Linked DNA regions of Homo sapiens: all the other regions are linked to region 5. Evidence: promoter capture Hi-C in 16 types of primary human blood cells and fetal thymus (Javierre and others, 2016). All regions are on one chromosome and are shown on one strand. The core of a region is centred on a gene start or on the middle of the fragment in contact, and the rest is flanking DNA. Distances in the headings are between cores, read along the strand shown. Region 1 overlaps SSBP2 (single stranded DNA binding protein 2). Region 2 overlaps SSBP2 (single stranded DNA binding protein 2). Region 3 overlaps SSBP2 (single stranded DNA binding protein 2). Region 4 overlaps SSBP2 (single stranded DNA binding protein 2). Region 5 holds the start of ATG10 (autophagy related 10). Region 6 overlaps SSBP2 (single stranded DNA binding protein 2). Region 7 overlaps SSBP2 (single stranded DNA binding protein 2).

The links. The method cuts DNA at HindIII sites, captures the fragments that hold promoters and counts their contacts. A CHiCAGO score of 5 or more calls a contact.
Region 1: a contact is called between a fragment that was not itself captured here and the fragment with the promoter of ATG10 in region 5, in 14 of 17 cell types (non-activated CD4 T cells, fetal thymus, naive CD4 T cells and 11 more). The highest score is 11.4, in non-activated CD4 T cells.
Region 2: a contact is called between a fragment that was not itself captured here and the fragment with the promoter of ATG10 in region 5, in 1 of 17 cell types (total CD8 T cells). The highest score is 5.3, in total CD8 T cells.
Region 3: a contact is called between a fragment that was not itself captured here and the fragment with the promoter of ATG10 in region 5, in 14 of 17 cell types (total B cells, fetal thymus, naive CD4 T cells and 11 more). The highest score is 10.9, in total B cells.
Region 4: a fragment that was not itself captured here is called in contact with the fragment with the promoter of ATG10 in region 5 in 1 of 17 cell types (total B cells); the score reaches 5.0 in total B cells.
Region 6: a fragment that was not itself captured here is called in contact with the fragment with the promoter of ATG10 in region 5 in 5 of 17 cell types (naive B cells, naive CD8 T cells, naive CD4 T cells and 2 more); the score reaches 7.3 in naive B cells.
Region 7: a fragment that was not itself captured here is called in contact with the fragment with the promoter of ATG10 in region 5 in 3 of 17 cell types (non-activated CD4 T cells, total B cells and fetal thymus); the score reaches 6.1 in non-activated CD4 T cells.

The regions. Positions count from the first base shown.
Region 1 is chr5:81,508,430-81,511,474 of GRCh38, forward strand. The region is part of intron 5 of SSBP2 (single stranded DNA binding protein 2); the gene reads right to left. Among named protein-coding and RNA genes, the nearest start is that of ACOT12, 120 kb to the left of the region's middle. The HindIII fragment of the contact is 2,025 bases long and covers 537-2,561 here.
Region 2 is chr5:81,700,868-81,703,719 of GRCh38, forward strand. All of the region lies in intron 1 of SSBP2 (single stranded DNA binding protein 2), which reads right to left. Among named protein-coding and RNA genes, the nearest start is that of SSBP2, 49 kb to the right of the region's middle. The HindIII fragment of the contact is 2,232 bases long and covers 136-2,367 here.
Region 3 is chr5:81,491,368-81,494,222 of GRCh38, forward strand. All of the region lies in intron 5 of SSBP2 (single stranded DNA binding protein 2), which reads right to left. Among named protein-coding and RNA genes, the nearest start is that of ACOT12, 99 kb to the left of the region's middle. The HindIII fragment of the contact is 3,239 bases long and covers 1-2,855 here.
Region 4 is chr5:81,580,135-81,583,080 of GRCh38, forward strand. All of the region lies in intron 4 of SSBP2 (single stranded DNA binding protein 2), which reads right to left. Among named protein-coding and RNA genes, the nearest start is that of SSBP2, 170 kb to the right of the region's middle. The HindIII fragment of the contact is 788 bases long and covers 1,009-1,796 here.
Region 5 is chr5:81,970,443-81,973,277 of GRCh38, forward strand. It overlaps ATG10 (autophagy related 10), which reads left to right and starts at 1,581. Exons shown (of 8, transcript NM_031482.5): 1 at 1,581-1,864. RefSeq lists enhancers at 1,114-1,671, 1,672-2,227 and silencers at 1,242-1,571, 1,742-1,981. The HindIII fragment of the contact is 10,147 bases long and covers 1-2,835 here.
Region 6 is chr5:81,557,891-81,560,791 of GRCh38, forward strand. The region is part of intron 4 of SSBP2 (single stranded DNA binding protein 2); the gene reads right to left. Among named protein-coding and RNA genes, the nearest start is that of ACOT12, 170 kb to the left of the region's middle. The HindIII fragment of the contact is 1,228 bases long and covers 810-2,037 here.
Region 7 is chr5:81,625,359-81,628,285 of GRCh38, forward strand. All of the region lies in intron 3 of SSBP2 (single stranded DNA binding protein 2), which reads right to left. Among named protein-coding and RNA genes, the nearest start is that of SSBP2, 120 kb to the right of the region's middle. The HindIII fragment of the contact is 661 bases long and covers 1,032-1,692 here.

The DNA.
Region 1 (3,045 bases), core at 299-2,798, 460 kb before region 5:
TACCTCCTTTTGCATGTCCGACTAGTCTTACTGATTTTACTTAATTGGTTTCCTGCTCAGCAACAGAGGCTCTCTCATTTCAATAAAAACATCAAAGTTTAAGTATGAACAATGTCACAAATAGAAAGACACTAAAGACTGCCTTCCAGAATGGATTTATTAAGTGTACCAAGTTATATCATAATTATTTATTTTAGACTTTAATTCATTGCTATTTTTCAAATGTAGTTGTTATGTATTCACAAGTTCAGTTTGTGATCATTCCACTTGGTAATGAATTTAAGTCTATACTTATCATGGAAGAGGGAGCTTGTTCTGTAACATAAACAGGAAAAAAAGGAGTATGTTTGTCTATTTAGGAGAAATGTTTCAATGTATTTTTTAGAGTATGATCACAAAGTAAGTAGAGCTCAGAAATACTTAGGCGGGGACTTCATTTGCTAATTATAAATTATTCTTCTTTACTTTTACTTATTCACTAATTCTAATAGGCTAAATTCTTTTTCGGTCTAGTCCATTCAAGCTATCTCAAAATAAGCTTTGCATTTACTAAGAATATAAGTTTAAAATATTATCATTATCTAAAAGTCAAAGGCAATAGGAGGTAACCACCCTTCAGAATTTAGTAGTTGCAACCAGGAGAGGCTGGAAAAACTATTTAGCACCCTTTTGACTAAGTCTCTTTTGAACCAGGAATTCCCTAATATCCAAGTCTGGCTTTTTGGAGAATCTGAGTCTTTATCCTAGCCAGCCTTCTGGGCCTTGTTACTTTAAGGAGCCACATCAGCTCTTTTCCAGTTGCTTCCATTCCTCCTTGCCTTGTACTGAACTAATAATCAGGATTGTGCCTGATCTTGGGTATTAGAGTTTATGAACTGTGAACTGATACTCCAACACAGGTTCTCCAGATTTGGATCATTCTTGAAGGTCAACATCTCTTTGGAACTAGATTAGAAACTGGGGTGTGAACTTGAATTATGATTGTCTGCTGCTATTTCTACCCATGGAAAGCAGCTACTCCTCATTAACTATATGTATTTTGACATTATGACCAGAATCACACTAGTTCAGTAACTGCAGGAAACCAATGCTGATATTTAGGACACACTTGAGTCATTTGATCACATCATTATATGTACCAAAAGATAATAATATAATATGTCTTTTTTAAATTTTTGGTACTTTGAGTTTTTTAATATTTTAGAGAGTCATTTATAGGGAGACATATTTAAATGTTGAATAGAGGAAAAAAGTACTTGGGATTAGTTGAAATAGTCTGCCTAGATAAACAGAAATGACTTGTGTATCAAATTCAAATATATCTGAAAGTTTTTCAATCTCCTGTCTTTCATTACTCAGATAAAGACACTAAACTTATCCAGAGACCCAAAGTAGAAATCTCAGAATCATCCTTGATTCTTCTCTTTCTCTTCTACCTTAACTTTGGTTAATTAAGGCCTATCAAACATAACTATGAACTGTTTATTCCTTTCTAATTCTACTGCCACTGATCTTGAATCAGTTCAGAAAGTCTCTTCCTTAAGCTGCTATCATAGCCAACCTACTAACACTGCATCTGTAATGGGTTCTTCTTTTGTTCATCTTTTAAATATTAGTGTTTTTTGTAGTTCAGTTGTATATTCTCTTACCCTCTCATTCTGTACTTTCTCCCTGGACAATTCATCTACCCCTGTGGATTCAAGTACCCTTAAAATGATATGGCCCTGCAATTTTTATCTCTAGTTTAGATTACTGTCCTAGACCTCAAACCTAGGACAGGTCTATCAGCTTAACAGATATGTCTAATTGGAGGACTCATGGGAACCTCATCTGTCCCACCTCAAACCTATTCCCCATTTTGTGTTCTCTAGCTTAGAAAATGGTACCTACATCTGCCCAGATTAGAGCCAGAAACTAGAATTATTATCCTTGAATTCCCTTATTTTGCAATATCCTGCATTTATTTCTGTCTCTCAAATCTACTTCTTATCTCCCCATACTTACCATCCCACTATCTTAGTTAAGGCCACCATTAAATTTTACTTGGAGTAGGCTGGGCACAGTGGCTCACGCTTGTAATCCCAGCACTTTGGGAGGCCAAGGCGGGCAGATAATGAAGTCAGGAGTTCAAGACCAGTCTGACCAACAGGGGGAAACCCTGTCTCTACTAAAAATACAAAAATTAGCCGGGCGTGGTGGCACATGCCTGTAATCCCAGCTACTCAGGAGGCTGTGGCAGGAGACTCGCTTGAACCCAGAAGGCGGAGGTTGCGGTGAGCCGAGATCACGCCACTGCACTCAGCCTGGGCAACAACAGCGAAACTCCATCTCAAAAAAAAAAAAAATTCACTTGGAGTACTGTAAAAGACTCCTAAATTCTCTCCCTATCTTCAGACTTGTTCCTCTGCAATTCTGACTACACAATGGAGCTGGAGTGATTTTTCTAAAAATGCAAATATGAACATGTCTGTCTCCTGCTTAAAATCCTCCAGTAGTTTAGTACTGCCTTTAGGATCAAGTTCAAACTCTACTAACCTACAAGGCCCCTGCAGTCCCTCTCAAGCTTCATCACCAGCTACTCTCCCTTTAGCTAATTAAGCTCCAGTTTTTCTTGGTCTCTCTCTCTCTCCTTTTCCCTCTGGATCTCTGTAAATTATTTTCCCTCTTCCTAGAAATTTCTTCCCCTCTCTTCCTTTGCCTAAGTCATAACTCATCCTTAAATGCGAAATTGGATTTCATTTACTATTTTGACAATACTTTCCTAACTATGCACCTCCCAAGATTCGGTTTGGTGGCCTTCTGATTTGCTCTAAGAGCACACTACAGCCATTTTCTTTCTATGCTGTAATGGCCTCTTCTCTCATTCATCACATTGTAGGGCTTCTCGAGGGCAGGGATTTTGTATACAACTCTCTCACAGGTGCCTACCAGAGCCTGAATCCACCGTTTAGTATGAATTCAGGTCATTGCCCTTCCTAAAGATCTCTGATGGCTCCTACTGAATACTCAGGTTCTTAACATGTGCCATGCTATAGCATATCTTTT
Region 2 (2,852 bases), core at 2-2,501, 270 kb before region 5:
CTTTGGTTTAAGGGAATGTTGTGGCCATATCTTCTAACCAAACCACTCAAACTTTCTCCGTATTGACCATAAAGCTATTCTACTTTCTTGTCATTTGTGTGTTCACTGGAGTAGCCCTTTTAATTTCCTTTAGGAAGCTTTTCTTTGCATTCAACTTGGCTGTTTGGCACAAGGGGCCTAGCTTTCAGTCTATCTTGGCTTTTGACATGTCTTCTTCATTAGGCTTAATCGTTTCTAGCTTTTGATTTAAAGCAAAAGACATATGATTCTTCCTTTCACTTGAACACTTAGAGGCCATTGTAGGTTATTAATTGGCCTAATTGTAATACTTTCATGTCTCAGAGACAGGAAGAGAGATGGGAAACAGCTGTTTGGTGGAGCAGTGAGAACACACACAACATTTATCAATTATATTCTCCATCTCCTGTGGGTGAGGTTTGTGGCATCCCAAAACAATTTCAACAGTAGCATCAAAGATCACTGATCATAGAACCTCATAATAGATATAATAATAATAAAAAGTTTGAAATAGAAGAAAAATTACCAAAATGTGATGTGGAGACACAAAGTGAGCCCATGTCCTTGGTAAAATAATACCAACAGACTTGCTCTATGCAGGGTGGCCACAAACCTTCAATTTGTAAAAAATAATATTGTCTACTGAGTATAATAAAGTGGAGCACAATAAAACAAGGTGCACCTGTACTATGTGCCAAGCACCATGCTAAATTATCCCACTAAAGATGTCTCAAATAAAATGAGAACATTTTGAGTAGGCTAATTTTATAAGGCCTTTTATTTTAGTTGTACCAAAACAAGCCCTCCAAAATACAAAAGCACTAAAGGAATAGACATCTTTGTCACTTTGTTCCATCCTTGGCACCTAAAGAAACTCCTGGACTGAACATAATTATTTACTTCAGCAACTCTGAGTCTTTGACATTATAATGTACATTATAAATCTCTAAGAAGAGATATAAGTATGCACCATACCATAAACCTATCTGACCTCAGAACCCTGTTAACCAACGATGCCAATTTATTAATACATAGTAGTTAATGAAAAGTTTAGAAAATATTGCATTAATGTTTTCACAGATTATTAAAATGTATGTTTAACTGTATCATTAATAGGGATTATCTGAAACAAAGTTATATGGGACTAATAAGGTACACACTGAAAGAAATCACTATTGTAATTTTTTTAATTAAAAAAAAGATTCGGCCAGGCACGGCAGCTCACGCCTGTAATCCCAGCACTTTGGGAGGCCGAGGCGGGTAGATCACGAGGTCAGGAGATCAAGACCAGCCTGGCCAACATGATGAAACCACGTCTCTACTAAAATACGAAAAATTAGCTGGGCGTGGTGGCGCACACCTGTAGTCCCAGCTACTCAGGAGGCTGAGGCAGGGGAATCGCTTGAACCCAGGAGTCAGAGGTTCCAGTGAGCCAAGATGGTGCCACTGCACTCCAGTCTGGCAACAGAGCGAGACTCCCATCTCAAAAAAACAAACAAACAAACAAACAAATTCTGTAATATTTAGAAGAGGACAAAAGCTATAGATAGAATCTGCCTACTACTCAATCTCACTTATATAAGGGCTCTCATGCAAAGCAATAGAAACAAAATAATGGAAGCTCCAAAATAGGCATCGGAAAATACAAAGTATATGAAACACAATGCCATAAGTTCTGAAAAAATGCAGGAATGCTATTTTTTTTTGAAACTGAACTTCTCAATTTTACACTTTCATCCAGACATTTGAGTGTGAGCTCTCTGCTAGTGCTCAATCCCAATAGAAAGAATCCCTATTTCAGAGAATCCAAATGCCAGTTTAAACTGGGTCCCTACATTTTTCTGTCATTTTATTTTAGGGGGATAAAATTGAGATTTATTTTTGCCACTTTCCACTATGTCCCCCTGAAGAGCTACATAGTATCTTCATTGCCTTTAGCCAGCTAAGAGATCTGTGACCTACACTAAGTTGCCAATCAAGCCTTATATTGAACTACAGCACAGTAAAAGAACTCTGATTTCTCATGCTGTGGCTCAATCTTAATGTACTCAAGCTCCAACAACTGGGAATAAGAGCAGATATTACACACATTCCCCACTATCTACAACAGACAAGTTGGTCATTTTAATGAGGGATTTTTGTCTGTTTTATTCTTTTTATTCCTTTTTGCCCATATCTTATTCAGTATTCTTTGTGTGGTGGCTACTTTGCTAAAGTGGTTCAATATTTAATCAAGGATTAAATGGTAAAGCAGTTTGCCTATTAAATTATAAAAACCTTTAGTGTTTACATAGCCTTTTCTAATTAATTAAATAACTTAATTGAAATTAAAAATTAGATTTTAAAGTAAGCTTTGAGAATACACAAGTTATTTTGAAGATATTCAGCCATGAATACAACATATATCAGTCATGGTATTACAGGACACACAGACAGTGCCAGCAACCCAGGAAGATCTCCAGAGCTCAGGCAGCCTGAGCTACAGTCTGCAGTGCTTGTTAGATGGACACTCAAAATCGGGCATTGGAATAGTGATTCCCTGAGACAGGAAAAGCACATCAGGTTATCCAAGGAGGTCCAGAGGGAATGGGTGCAGCACACCAGCATGGCACATGTATACATATGTAACTAACCTGCACATTGTGCACATGTACCCTAAAACTTAAAGTATAATAATAATAAAATTTAAAAAAAGAAAAAAAAGAAAAAAGTCAAAACAATTATTTTTTAAATTCAGTTGTTTAAATTCAATTCCTCTACTGAGTTTAAATCTTTGTATTTATTTTCCTAATAGATAACACTGGATTTATTAATGTTCACTAATGATTTCCCTT
Region 3 (2,855 bases), core at 35-2,534, 480 kb before region 5:
GAAGTGCCTCACTTGAAACAGAAGAACACTTGAGATCTGCGTGTTGATCTGAATGTAAGAAGATGATACAGTGTTTATTTAGTGGTATATGTAAAAGGAGAATTTTTTTTCCCCAAATGGATGGCATTGTGAATGAGTGTATGTTAATGGAACTGTCTATACCCTCCTACCTGACTGAGGCCCTGTGAAGGAGCTGCTGTGAGGGAGGGTCAGTGTATGTGCTAGCTGGGAACCTGCAGGTTACTACAAAATGAGATCAAGAGAAAGAGACAGATTCTGTTTTTAGTCAATTTATTACTCTTATATGTCCTCCTTTAAGTTCAAATTTGTATGTTTTTTTGGAGGCCAAAAAAAAAGAAATAGAAAACCACTTATAAACTCTAATCTTCACACAATTAAAGCACAAAAAGACAAAACAATCGGTTAATATAGCTAAAAACTACTACTTTTACCTGAAATATAAGATTACTATGGTTAAAGTATTTTTAACACAAAATTAGTGCTGTTATAACATGGCTTAGTATTCAGATTGATCCTTCCCTTATGTTATCTAGATAACCACCTAAGTCCTCAACTGCCTAGTGAATTAGCTTGCGTAGACACAGCAACAGAATCTAAAAGCGTTTGCATACTAGCAACTGAGAATAATCTGCACTAGTATCTGTACTTCACTATTCAGAAGTCAATTTGCTTTCAAATGAAATTCAAAATGTTAACCCCAATTTTAATTATTTTATGGTAAAATGCTAATCTGTCCAAGAGATTATGCTAATATAAATTATATCTATTGACAGACATGTCAGTATTCCCTGCTTTAGCAATCTGAGAAGAATAGGTTCTTCAAGAGTCTTTGGGCTGGGCGAGGTGGCTCATGCCTGTAATCCCAGCACTTTGGGAGGCCGAGGTGGGCAGACCACTTGAGGCCAGGAGTTTGAGACCAGCCTGGGCAACATGACGAAACCCCATCTCTACTAAAAATACAAAAAATTAGCTGGGCTTGGTGGCACACGCCTGTAATCCCAGCTACTTGGGAGGCTGAGGGAGGAGAATCGCTTGAACCCAGGAGGCGGAGGTTGCAGTGAACGGAGATCACGCCACTGCACTTCAGCCTGGGTGACAGAGCAAGACTCTTTCTCAAAACAAAACGAAACAAAAAAACAGGCAGAAAAGAGTGTTTGGCTCTTAAAATGTGTTTACTCTTTATGTTTGGGGCAACATTCTTTTTTTTTTTTAAGTTTGAGTAACAAATACTTGTTTGAAGGTATCATGATGGTGAATCAGTGTTTTAACTGGAAAAAAGCCTTCCCCAGAAAGGATTATTTGTAATGTGTGTGGAAATAACATTTGACTGGGAGTCAAAGACCTGGGTTTTAGTTTCTGTACCTCTATTAATTAGCAGTGTCCCTGAGCTAATCATCTTTCAGGGCTTTAGTTTTCTCAACCTTAAAATGAGAGAGTTAAACCAGGTGACTTCTAAAGTCCCTTTTAAAATAAGGAACCAATGATTCTGTGTTAATTATTTTTAGTATTACATTTAAATATAAAGATTAGTATAATGTAGATAGCTATAAATATTTGAAGTGTGTGTGGGTGAGGCAGGGAGTGGGGATAAAGGCATATGTTCCTAAGGCACAAACCATTTTCATCAAGGAGCTAAAGAAAATTATTACCATGCTTCATAGAGAAAAAGAAAAACCTAAAGATTAAATATCCCACAACACAACAGTCCTCTTTGTTGTGTCAGATTAAAGGTCAATTAGGAGAATAAAAAAGCTACACTTAACAATGAGAAAGTATGGTAGAAATTTGTTCATTCAAAAACATATATATATATTCAAAAACATATATATATCAAAAACATATATATATTTGAATGAACAAAACAGATAGATAGATAGATAGATAGATAGATAGATAGATAGATAGATAGATAGATTAACAGGGTCTTGCTCCATTGTCCAGGCTGGAGTGCAGTGCCATGATCATGGCTCCCTGCAGCCTCAACCTCCCAGGCTCAAGTAATCCTTCCACCTCAGCCTCCTGAGTAGCTGGGACTACAGGTGTGGTACACAACACCACACCTGGGTATTAAAAAAAAAAATTGCAGGCCGGACGTGGTGACTCACACCTGTAATCCCAACACTTTGGGAGGCCAAGGTGGGCGGATCATGACGTCAGCAGTTCAAGGCCATCCTGGCCAACATAGTGAAACCCTATCTCTAGTAAAAAATACAAAAAATTAGCCAGATGTGGTGGCATGTGCCTGTAGTCCCAGCTACTTGGGAGGCTGAGGCAGGAGAATTGCTTGAACCTGGGAGGCCGGGGTTGCAGTGAGCCAAGACCATGCCATTGCATTCCAGCCTGGGTGGCAGGGTGAGACTCCATCTCAAAAAAAAAAATAAAATAAAATTGTAGAGATGGGTGCTCGCTCTGCTGCCCAGGCTGGTCTCAAACTCCTGGGCTCAAGTGATTATCCTGCCTTGACTTCCCAAAGTGCTGGAATTACAGGTATGAACCATCATGTCCTGCTCATCAAATATTTATTAAACACCCACAAAGGCACTGTTCTAAGTGGCTAGATATATCAGTGAACAAGGAAGATAAAAATGACTACCCGCTGATTAGGATTTTTCAAGGTTCACAGTCTTGTAATTAATAGGAGAAACAATTTCTATAAAAATTCTTTTCTACATCAGTCCACTAATCTGAGACAAATAGAATGTTCTCTTCACCAAATGGCGAGTATCAATGAAAACCCAGGGAAAATAATATTTCAATCTGTTGTCTTTCCTCAAAAGTCATATTACATCATCCCTATTTGATAGAACATGTAGTGCTATGAATACTGAAGATCA
Region 4 (2,946 bases), core at 153-2,652, 390 kb before region 5:
GGTGAAAGGGGCTTTCCTGTAGAATAAAAATTCCTGTATTTCTATTAATTTATGGACTTTAGGAGGCAAACTATTAAGGCAGAACTATAGAAATTATTAACTACTGTTCAAAAAACTTTCAGAGATATCAATCTAACTGTATAGCAATTAGATGGTATTGACCTGTTTGAGAAAAAAACAGGGGTAGTACCCCTGTACTCGTGGGTAGAAGAAACAGAATCACAGTGGTTATATCCTTGACAGTGGAGAATCCATGTTAACTCCAAATTCAACTCAACCAAATGACAACTCAGCCAAAAGATATCCAATATGAATGAAAATAATACTGGTTTTCTATGTTAGTTCTAAGTTTAAACTATAAATCTTAATTTTGGTTGGGAAAAGTCACCCAACCCCGATGTTTATATTCCCAGGTTTTATTGCTTTTATCTGCCTTGTGTTAAAATTATTATTTGACCCTAGTAGATCATTTCTGTATGAAAGAGACATACCTTATTATCAGTCCTCATACAGTCAGGCCTAGTACATTACATTAAGTATATATCTGTTCAATGTCAAGGTACTTATAAGGGAAAACATTTTAACTGGAATATTCCTAAAAAATTTCAGTGTAGGTAAAAAAAAAAAAAATGATTTGCTAATAGAAGGCAAGGACATACAATGACACCATATGTTAACACCAAATGCTGATTTCAAAGTGCTCAGCTTCTAGTTCCACTATGATCCCAGTACCTTATTCTTCAGGCGTAAGATGATTAAAGATAATCTTCAATATAATTATGTTCATTATGGAGGTCTTTAGACCACGAAAAATCTCAGATCTACAATAAAGGAAAAAATATAGGCCAAATACAAAATATTCTGCTTTTCTAATGACAGCATCAAAGAATCCAAGAGAAAGTTACGTAAAAGTGCAGGTTTCATAGGTCAAATAAACAGTCTACTACTCTGGTTCTATAAGCATACTAATGGTCTGGTAACTGATAGGCAACAATTAATTACAATTCAAGCTTTTATTGCCTGCTCTGCCAGGAACATAGAGAAGAAGAACAGTGGGCAAGGTATGCTGTAAGTAAGATCGAGTCCCTTAAGGCCAGAAATGCTAAACTGGGAATAACCATGAGCATATAATCCCTGAGGACATGAAGAATACTAAAGAGGCGACAGGATGGATAGAAGGCTTGAGCGGCATTTGGGTTAAATGTAGAATGGAGGTGTTTGACTAGGTGATCCGAAAAGTCACTGTTAGCTCTAAAAATCTGTTACTTTATACCTTACAATTTTGTGAAGGCTGTATCATGTTAACAGAAACCTGCAGAGCCAAGAGGAAAGATCCAGTAAGAACAAGAATAACTCTAAGTTGAAAAATTCCATTTCAACCTTTTAAAAACAGTAGAGAAAAAATGGTAACTGTTTCTCATAGAAGACAAATGAAAATGTTTTTGCTGGGAGAATCTATCAGTTGTAGCTCCTTATTGCCTAAAATTAAGCATAGTACAATGATTAAAGTATATGAGTTTATGAGATAAAGTGTATTTTATATTTTGCAGAAAAAAACTAGGAAGAATAGTCTTGTTCTCCTAATGGAGGCTCTGTGTTCTGTCTCCTCAAAATTTCCCACTTGACTGTCTCAATTTAAGCAAGGATATGCACAGAAAAATTATATTTAAAAGATGAAAAGGTCACATAATTGCTTCAAAAAGAAATGTCTTGATTGGTTCAAACTTTATTCTAACTATAAATTCTAACCATAATTCTAACTAAAAATATAAAAACATTCAGAAATTTAGATTTAAAGCTTACTATATTAAAAAATATAAAAATGTCCTTATTGATAGTAATCAAATTGTAACTCAGCTAAGTCCTTTTCCTTTCACTCAGTTTTTCAAAAGCCTTTTTAACAAACTGAGCCTTAAAGTAAATAGCTTTTCCCTTGGTATAGAAGCTCAGTTTGTCTAAGTATTAGATTAAAGCTCTGGTTGTTTTGTCTAAGAAAAGCCATCTTTACAAAATAAAAGCATTCATCTTTGTTTGGGGTTGACATCTATGAGCTGCTGTTATTTTTCTCTTTAACGAACTTTAAAGAAATACTAAAAGTAAAATAAATAAAGTATTTAACAAGACTATGTTTTCTTTATTTTTATGAAATTCATGCTTTTAAGAATTCAGGATACAAAGGATGACAGATTTCCATTTTAAAAATTTAAGAAATTACTAGTTCAATAATTATTCTCATAAATTCACAAAAAGAAAGCATTCATTCTCCTGAAAACAGTTCATATTGAACCTAATGCATATGTACTCAATTTTTATATTAGATTTGCTACTACACAGTAAAATTAACTTTATAATATGTACTTTTCATTTATAGAAGATATAATAATGATAAAAATCTGAAGAAAAATCTTCAATAATTGCTGAAACTTGATAGTAAACATAATCAGAGAGATTACTGTCTTCTTTTATTTTTTCTTTTTGAGACGGAGTCTTGCTGCATCACGCAGGATGGAGTGCAGTGGTGCAATCTTGGCTCACTACAAACTCCACCTCCCCAGTTCAAGCAATTTTCTTGCCTCTGCCTCCCGAGTAGCTGGGATTACAGGCGTGCACCACCATGCTCAGCTAATTTTTGTATTTTTAGTAGAGATGGGCTTTCGTCATGTTGGCCAGGCTGATCTCGAACTCCTGACCTCAGGTGACCCACCCACCTCAGCCTCCCAAAGTGCTGGATTACAGGTGTGAGCAACCGCACCTGGCCTTACTGTCTTCTTTTAACATATAGATTTCCTAAAATATAAATAACAGGCCAGGCACAGAGGCTCACATCTGTAATCTCAGCACTTTGGGAGGCCAAGGCAGGAAGATAACTTAAGGCCTGGAATTTGAGACCAGCCTGGGCAACACAGTGAGACCCCATCTTTAACAAATAACATAAAAACAAAAATT
Region 5 (2,835 bases), core at 331-2,830:
GTTGTAGGGTAAACACATAAACAGGCCAATATCATTCTTTGCCATGAGGGATATGATGAGAGGAAGTACATGGAGGTTAACTGAGTTATTTCTTTTAGTTTCTTTGTTTTTGGCATGTGAATTATGAAACTTTAAAACACCTCCAGTGCAAAAAAAATTTTTTTTAAATTAACATGGTGGTTGGTGCACTGTGTTTCTAAAATATGGAGTACAATGTAAAGCAATGCATTCTTTTTTTAAAAATTTATTGTTATTTTGAAAAATTTTTGTAGAGATGAGGTCTCACTGCCTTGCCCATAGCTGGTCTTGAACTCCTGGGCTAAAGCGATCCTCCTACCTCGGGCTCCCAAAGTGCTGGGATTACAGGCGTGAGCCACTGCGCCCAGCCGCATTCTTGTTTTCATCTGTGAAATACGTTTTTAAGGTAAATACTTAAAGTTGATGGAGACACCTGGTCTACTTAAGCTCTCATTCAGAACACACTGCCTTGTGCTTTTAAAAAAATTAAATGGATAATCTAAATTGGCAGCTACCAATTAATTTATATCCATAGTTGCTAAAAAATGTTAGTGTAAGTTCATTTTTATTAGTCGCATCATTTTGAGTTTTAAACTATTTCACATGCAGTAAAATTTATACCTCTTATGGGTTTTGTCAAACAGTGGTTTAGTCACCAACACAATCACGGTATAGAAGCTCTCAAGCTCCTTTTCAGTCACCCCCTTCCTCCAGCCCTTTGCCCTGGTCGCCACTGATCAGTATTCTCTCCTTTTAAAAACACTTATTATTTGGAAATAATTATAGACACAGGAAATTGCAAAAATACTACAGCACCTAGAGTCCCGTGTACCTATCACCTAGTTTCCTCCAATGGTGACATCTTACACAACTGTAGTACAAGATCAAAAAACTATGTCATGTAGTTTGAAGGCAGGTTTTCCTTTCACTTCTTCGCCTGCATTTTCTCCTTTCATTTCCAACAAATTTAACTCTGTTGTTAGAAGGAGCAGATGCTAGTTTTCTTTCAGATGTCTGCTATTTCAGTTCGATTACCCCTGTTACTCCTACATTTTTTCTAGTCTTTATCCCCATCGTTTCGCCCCAATTTAATTTTGCTGCTAGTTTTTTTTTTTTCTCCTCTGGGATATGTGCCACAGATGGTACTATTGTCAATATTCGAATTCCTAACTTCTCCCTCCATCCGTAAGTTTTCAAGGGGTAGCCGTGCTTGTGCTTAATTGTGGTGTTTACAGGACTTTTTGTAGCGTAAGCATGCTGGCATGGTTCCCCAACCTCTTAGGGGGATGCTAGTAACCCGCTCCCCCGTCAACGAGCCGCCTTTGTGCTCCGCGGAGGGCACCGCCTGCGTTGGGTTGGAGGTGGGGGTTGGCGGGGGAGAGCTGCCCGCCAGGCGAGGGGCGGGGCCTTGGCGGGGGTGGTCGCGGGCGGCGGGGAGGTCTCGCTTCCCTCCTCTCCACCCGCTCCCAGTCCCGGCCTGGGTCTCAGCCCCGCCCTGCCCAGAGCGCGCGGCCGATCACGTCACCGGCCTGCGCTAGGCGGCCCCCACGGCGCGGGAAGGCGCAGTGCGCACGCTCCGACTCGGCCGTGGCGGACCTGACTGAAGGAGGCCGCGGACCTGACTGAAGGAGGCCACGGCCACTTCTGGTTGGCCTCGGGGCGCGCTGGCTCGGCTCTTCCTCCGCCCTCGAGGCCCCCGCAGTCCCATCATTCAGTTCCGTAGGGTCACCGGCGCGGCAGTGGCCTCGCAGGGCGCTGGGTCCCTCTCCCCAGCTCTCCTCCCCCTGGCCCCGTCGCCCCGCCCTCGCCGGGCTGGGCTGCGGGGTCAGGGGCCGAGCGGAGAGGGGTGAGTATTCCCCACAGCCCTTGCCGGTTGTCTCCTCCCGGCTCTGCTTCCCACACGGTCCTTGCCCCACTCCTAGGACAGGGAGGAAGGGCACGCGCGGGTAGGCGGGAAACAGCCCAGTCCTGAACAAAAGGCCGGGGAAGCGGGTCCCCGCCGGTAACTGCAGGCCTGTGCTGGCCGCCGCGAGCGGGGAAGGGCGAGGACACTCCCTCCTCGGGGACCCGGTCCCCGTCGCGCACACGGTGTCACCAGCACACCTGGCCCAGTACCCAAAGCACCCTCGAAGTGGGTAGTAACTACTTTGTGTTTAAAATCCACATACTGATAGCAAATCTTTGGTTGAAACAGTATTAAATTACTGGGGCTTCCAGTGGCTGAGTCCAACTTAATTTGAAGTTTCAGATTAAGTATCAGGAGGAATAACTTGATATTTAGAGCCAACAGGTCTTTCTTTTTTTTTTAAACCTCCCAAAAAACCTATAAAATCAAGAATTGGCGGGGAGGACCGGAGAATGATAAAGGAATAGTTGACTGATTTATAGAAACTTTTAGTGGCGGTAAAAATTACAAAAGTATTGGAAATAAGGCAAAAGGACAGCATGTTTTTTTCAGAGTCAAAATGGAGCCTAACAGGCCCACCTGAAGATGATTTAGATGTCTAGGGGACTATATTTTGTTTGGCATGATGATATTGATTAGGGCCTAGGCTTTGTAGTTAACATCTTTTTCATTAATGGAGATGCAAATTATTTCTGAGTGGGAGAGAAAAAAATACAGTACTCCTAAAGGTTGTAGTTTTAGTGCCTTGTAGGATATTAGCCATTTTTCTTTTCTTTTTTTTGAGACAGAGTCTTGCTCTGTCGCCCAGGCTGGAGTGCAGTGGCACGATCTCGGCTCACTGCAACCTCTGCCTCTCGGGTTAAAGCAATTCTCCTGCCTCAGCCTCCCGAGTTGCTGGGACTACAGGTGCC
Region 6 (2,901 bases), core at 174-2,673, 410 kb before region 5:
AATCCAGACATTATGAATTTTACTTTGTTGGGTGCTGGATTTACATTTCTATATATATTCTTGAGCTTTGTTCTGGGACACAGCCAAATTACTTAAAAATTGTTTGAACCTTTTGATTCTTGCTTTTAAGATTTCTTAGATGGCACTCAAGCAGCATGGAGTAAGTATTCCATGTAGCAAGGCCCTTCTAAGTATACTATCCAATACCCTGTGAATTACGAGGTTTTGCATTCCTTCTGCCATATACTGTTACAGTACCCTGTGCTTTCCCTAAATAAAAGCACCTCTCATACTTCATTGAAATCACTTACCTGGTTGTTTTCTCAAAATATACCTCTTTCTCCATACTGTTGCTACATGTCTTAGTCTGGGTGGCTATCACAAATTAACAAAAACTGGGTGGCTTAAACAATAAACATTTATTTCTGTCAGTTCTGGAGGCTATGAAGTCCAAGATCAAGGTGCTGGCAGATCTGGTGTCTGGTGAGGACACACTTCCTGGTTTGCAGATGGCTATCTTCCTATTGTATCCTCACACGACAGAGAACAGAGAGAGATATTTTATATTCCTAACACCTGGTGCAGTCCTGGCACAGTAGGTGCTACTTGAATAAATATGAACATGAATAAATATGAACATTAATAGATGAATGTTGGCAAAATGTAAAATTTTGCATGTCTAAACTAAAGTTGTGTCATCAATGCCTCAAGATGAACTATCCTTTTCCTAACTAACATGACTTGTCTAAACATAGTGGTATTCTTTTATTCTTCAGGAAATCAGAACAACCTGCATGTTTGAATATAAAAGCTTGGTTAAACTTGTATTTTGCTTTCTATCTCTTCTAAGATGTCTTTTACTTTCTTTCCTATCTCTTTGACATAAGGTTCCAGGACAAATTAATTGTCAAAGCAAAAATATTTATCATACAAAAGAGTAGTACTGTCTATATTTACTATGGCTTGTCAGAATAGAACATCTGATCTCTTAAACAGTGTCATAATGCCTAGACTTATCAGAGGAACATCTAAGAAGTATCTTCCTCAGCATGATTAGAAAGATGTTTTTAAAAATTATTTATAGGCCGGGCGCAGTGGCTCACGCCTGTAATCCTACCACTTTGGGAGGCCAAGGTAGGTGGATCACGAGGTCAAGAGATCGAGGCCAGTCTGGCCAACATGGCGAAATCCCATCTCTACTAAAAATACAAAAATTAGCTGGGTGCGGTGCTCACGCCTGTAATCCCAGCACTTTGAGAGGCCAAGGCAGGTGGATCATGAGGTCAGGAGTTCGAGACCAGCCTGACCAACATGGTGAAACCCCATCTCTACTAAAAATACAAAAAATCAGCCGGGCGTGGTGGGCCGTGCCTGTAATCCCAGCTATTCAGGAGGCTGTGTCAGGAGAATTGCTGGAACCCGGGAAGCGGAGGTTGCAGTGAGCCGAGACTGCGCCATTGCACTCCAGCCTGGTTGACAGAGCGAGATTTCATCAAAAAAAAAAAAAAAAAAAAATTAGCTGGGCATGGTGGCACATGCCTGTAGTCCCAGCTATTTGGGAGGCTGAGGCAGGAGAATAACTTGAACCCAGGAGGCTGAGGTTGCACCATGGCGCTCCAGCCTGGCAACAGAGTGAGATTCCATCACAAAAAAGGAAAAAAAATTATTTATAATATTATAAGAAACAAATAATAGAAATGAACTGCAAACCAGTAGCAGGTTTCTACCTTAAATTATGTGAGTTATTGAACTTTATAATTAATTTGCCTTCTTATAAAAGTATCATTTAACCACATTTCTAAAACATATCCTTCATTTTAATACATATGACTACAGTAATAATTTGGTCTTGTACATATTTAAGCCATTTTTATTCCATAAAAATGTCATTACATAAAGCAACTGTCAAAATCTTAAACGTCAAAAAAACTAAAAAAACAGTGATTTAGCATAATATAATCTATTCTGATAGAGTATTACATAAGGCATCAGAAGTCTAGTTTTATTTGTCCATAAGTAATCTAAAATTATTAAATAAGCTTTTAATTTACTTATTAAGCAAAACTATACTGAGTAAATACATAATTTCATTCAATTATTTTGTGATTTCAACATACACAATATAATTCTCACAATCAAAAACTGAAAAATATGATTGCTTCCCCAGAAAAATAAACTTTAACTTAAACTATATTAAATAACAGAATACAACAGAATATCAATTGCGCTGTTTACTATGTGCCACGATTAATTGTATAACACTTCTTACTTGGTTAGGAAAAAAAGAGTCATGCTGCTAGATTCTCATGTCATTTCCAATTTTACAAAAAAGATTGTGTTCAAATTTCAAGAGTATAGGTAACTTTCACTGGTCTTAAAATATCAAGTCCTTCAAATTAACAATCAGAAGCCTTTTTAAAATTTCACTGCATTGCTCTCTATTTAGATAGGAACAGTCCTGTGGCTATAAACTCTGTACTGCCAAAGGGTTGCAGGAAAAAAAAAGAAAAGGTAGTAAGAGCTTAAGCTTTTCATGCCAAAACAAGGAAAAATAATCCTTGGAAGAAGCTCAGAATCAGTTTGTAGGGAAAGTGGGTGTTTTAGCAAGGTACATAGCAGAAGTATTATTTTAGACAGACACGGATAGAAAGCCACCTCAGTGCTTATTTTCCCACCTCTACGCTTTCCTACACCTTATTCTCTTCAGACTCCATCCAGAGAGAAGCAGCTCTGGAACGCCTAAGAATATTCTTAGATTTTGTAAAGGTGCATTTGAAACAGATTAATTTTGAAACTATGTTTCATGTCTAAGTAGTTTTCCTTAAGTATTCTGATTCATAACAATATTTTTTACAGCTTTAAGTATAATTGACAATAAACATTGTATATATTTAAGGTATT
Region 7 (2,927 bases), core at 112-2,611, 350 kb before region 5:
TCTACAACCTGAGATGCTGGTGACTAAGGAGCTTCTCAGTTCCTCTAATCCTACAACTATTAAACATGAAAGCAAATATTATCCTTGAAATGTAATGGGTTCATCATCATGAATAATACTTTAGAGTTTTATACACTCTTTATTCCCAAGCAGAAACAAGTGAAAATTTTATATTTTACAAATGAAGACACAGACTGAATACAGAGAAGCAAAACTTACAAAGTATTGAAGTCTTTGATCTCATATCATTTATTATTATTAAAATCTTCCCCTCATAAATCAAGAGAAAATACGGCATTCCCAAGTTGAAGATTCTCAACCAAACACTGTATCTCCCTCTATTCCTGAGAATGTAAGTTGAAATGACTTAGGTAGCTTGTTAATATCTCAAGGGAACACAGAAAGCAAAATGGTTGTCAGAGAAGTCTACAAGGGTGAATAAACATGCCAGATGTGTCCCAGAAGATGGAATGCTAACATAATTATACAACTTATGCCACTGGCCAGATCTAGGACTACCCGACAACAAAAATTTTTTAAAAGACAGAACAAAACAATAAAACGCCATGGAAAACATTTTTTCTGAGGAACAAGCCACGTTGTTATAAGCTCAAGTCTTAATAACTAAGGAAGTCATTTGTCTTTGTCCCAAAAATATATCAATGAATGTTAGTTACTGACAATCTCTGTTTAAGAAAACTATCCTATCCATTCATAAGACCAAAAACAGTTTCACATGAAATGTGTATGTACCTGTTCTTCATCTTAGAACTTCCCCATATGTATAACTTGTATTAATATTATTCCCTAGCATTACTTAATACCTTTAAAAATGAAAGCATTAAATTTTGCTTCACTTTTATAAAATTCTCACAATACTCCTGGATTAGAAATCAATTTCTATTTTAAAATATAATGAAGATAGTTACCATTATTGAGTAAGTACTATACAAGCATCATATACGAAGTATCACATATTCAACATCTAATCCTTCTAATTATTATCCCCACTTTGTAGATGAAGGAACTGAAGCTTAGGTTAAATTAGATTAAATAATTTGCCTAAAGTCACACAGTGGCAGAGCTGGGCTTGAGCCTTTTAATTATTACGTTATTTTGTTTCTAACGTGAGTGTGGTTTTAAGAGTTCTTAATGCAAGACTCCTTATTCTGATTATGGGCAGGTTTCTACAGTTCCAGCAGTCTGAGCAGCATCAGCTATTATAAGAGTGGGATGGATATCTGTACCAGATAAGACAGCAAGCACATTGTTAGCCTACCTTTGACCCCATGCACCAACTCATTTCCTGAATATCCTATGGCAACCACCCCCTCACCCTACATGCAGCTGCCAGGGATCCGTGGATGCCTCAATATAGACATGACTCAGAAGAGAAAACTTTTGAGTCCCATTTATATACACTGCCTGGAATTAGCCACTCACAATGCTCAAATGGGAAATGTAATTAATGACTTATTAATAGTGGGACACTGAATTGAGCTCTGTGATTAAGAAATATGTGTTACTGAGATGAGCACTGGTTACAATTCAGGAACTTGAATTCTAACTCTAAATTTGACCTTGGGCAAATAGTTTTTTGATTTATGTAAAAAGAGAAAATAAATGTTATGTATTTTACAGTGTTTTATACAGAGACAAAGAGATGACATACGCAAAAGTAATTTTAAAAGAAGCTTAAAGGTACTAAAAATATTATAGAAAAAGTCTCATATAGCTAGTATAGCGAAATAAAAAGTTTTCTAATTAACTTGAGTAACATTTGCCTCATTTTTCTTTTGAGTCCTTTACATTTAATGAAGATTCCCTCCGTTTTTTACAATGTTCTCTCCCCACCAAATTTTCCTCTGTATTCCACATGCCTTTCCTCTTCTCCCATGCTGAATTTTAGTTTTGTTCTCTATGGCCTATGTTTTTTGCCTTCTCTCTTGCTAACACTTTTTCTCCCTTCTCACTCTTATCAGCCTCCTCCTTCTAGCCCCGTTGTCACCTACACTGTCTTATACGATGCTTAGTTTAACCCAACTCAAATAGTTATTATACCTTGCCTGTTATAGGAAAGACATACCAGATGAGTAAAAACCAGTAAGCCAATTATAAATATTATACCATTCTAGTGAGCTAACTAATGCCATTGCACTTGTTTTCCTGTGGGTATTTGGTTATTCTTAGCTATACCTGATATTATTCATTAGGTTCTAAAATAATTAGAGTGCTAGCATACTACAAGATTGGACTTTCCACCACCAGGTGAAAGAAACAGAATTCTTAGAATAATCTTATATTTTATTTTCTCTACAATGTTATATATATTTGATTTCAGGATATAAATACAGGGGACCAAAGTCACTTTAAAAGGTGCTCTATATTTTTATTTTGTTAAATAAAAATGAGGTATAGGCTGGTTGTGGTGGCTCATGCCTGTAATCCCAGCACTTTGGCAGGCAGAAGCAGAGGCGAGTGAGTCTCGATCCCAGGAGTTTGAGACCAGCCTGAGCAACAACAGCAAAACCTCATCGCTACAAAAAAATATGAAAAAGTAGCTGGGCATGGTGATATGCTCCTTTAGTCCCAGCTACTCAGGAGGCTTAGGTGGGAGGATCACTTAAGCCCGGGAGATGGAGGCTGCAGCGAGCTATGATTGTGCCACTGCACTCCAGCCTGGGTGACCCTGTCTCAAAAAAAGAAAAAAAAAAAAGGTGTACTTGTCTGCTCTCAAGCTGCTAATAAAGACATACCTGAGACTGGGTAATTTATAAAGGAATGAGGTTTAACTGACTCACAGTTCAGCATGGCTGGGGAGGCCTCAGGAAGCTTAGAATCCATGGCAGATTCACATGGCGACAGCATGGAGAAGAATGAAAGCTGAGCGAAGGGGGAAGCCCCTTACAAAACCACCAGATTGTGTG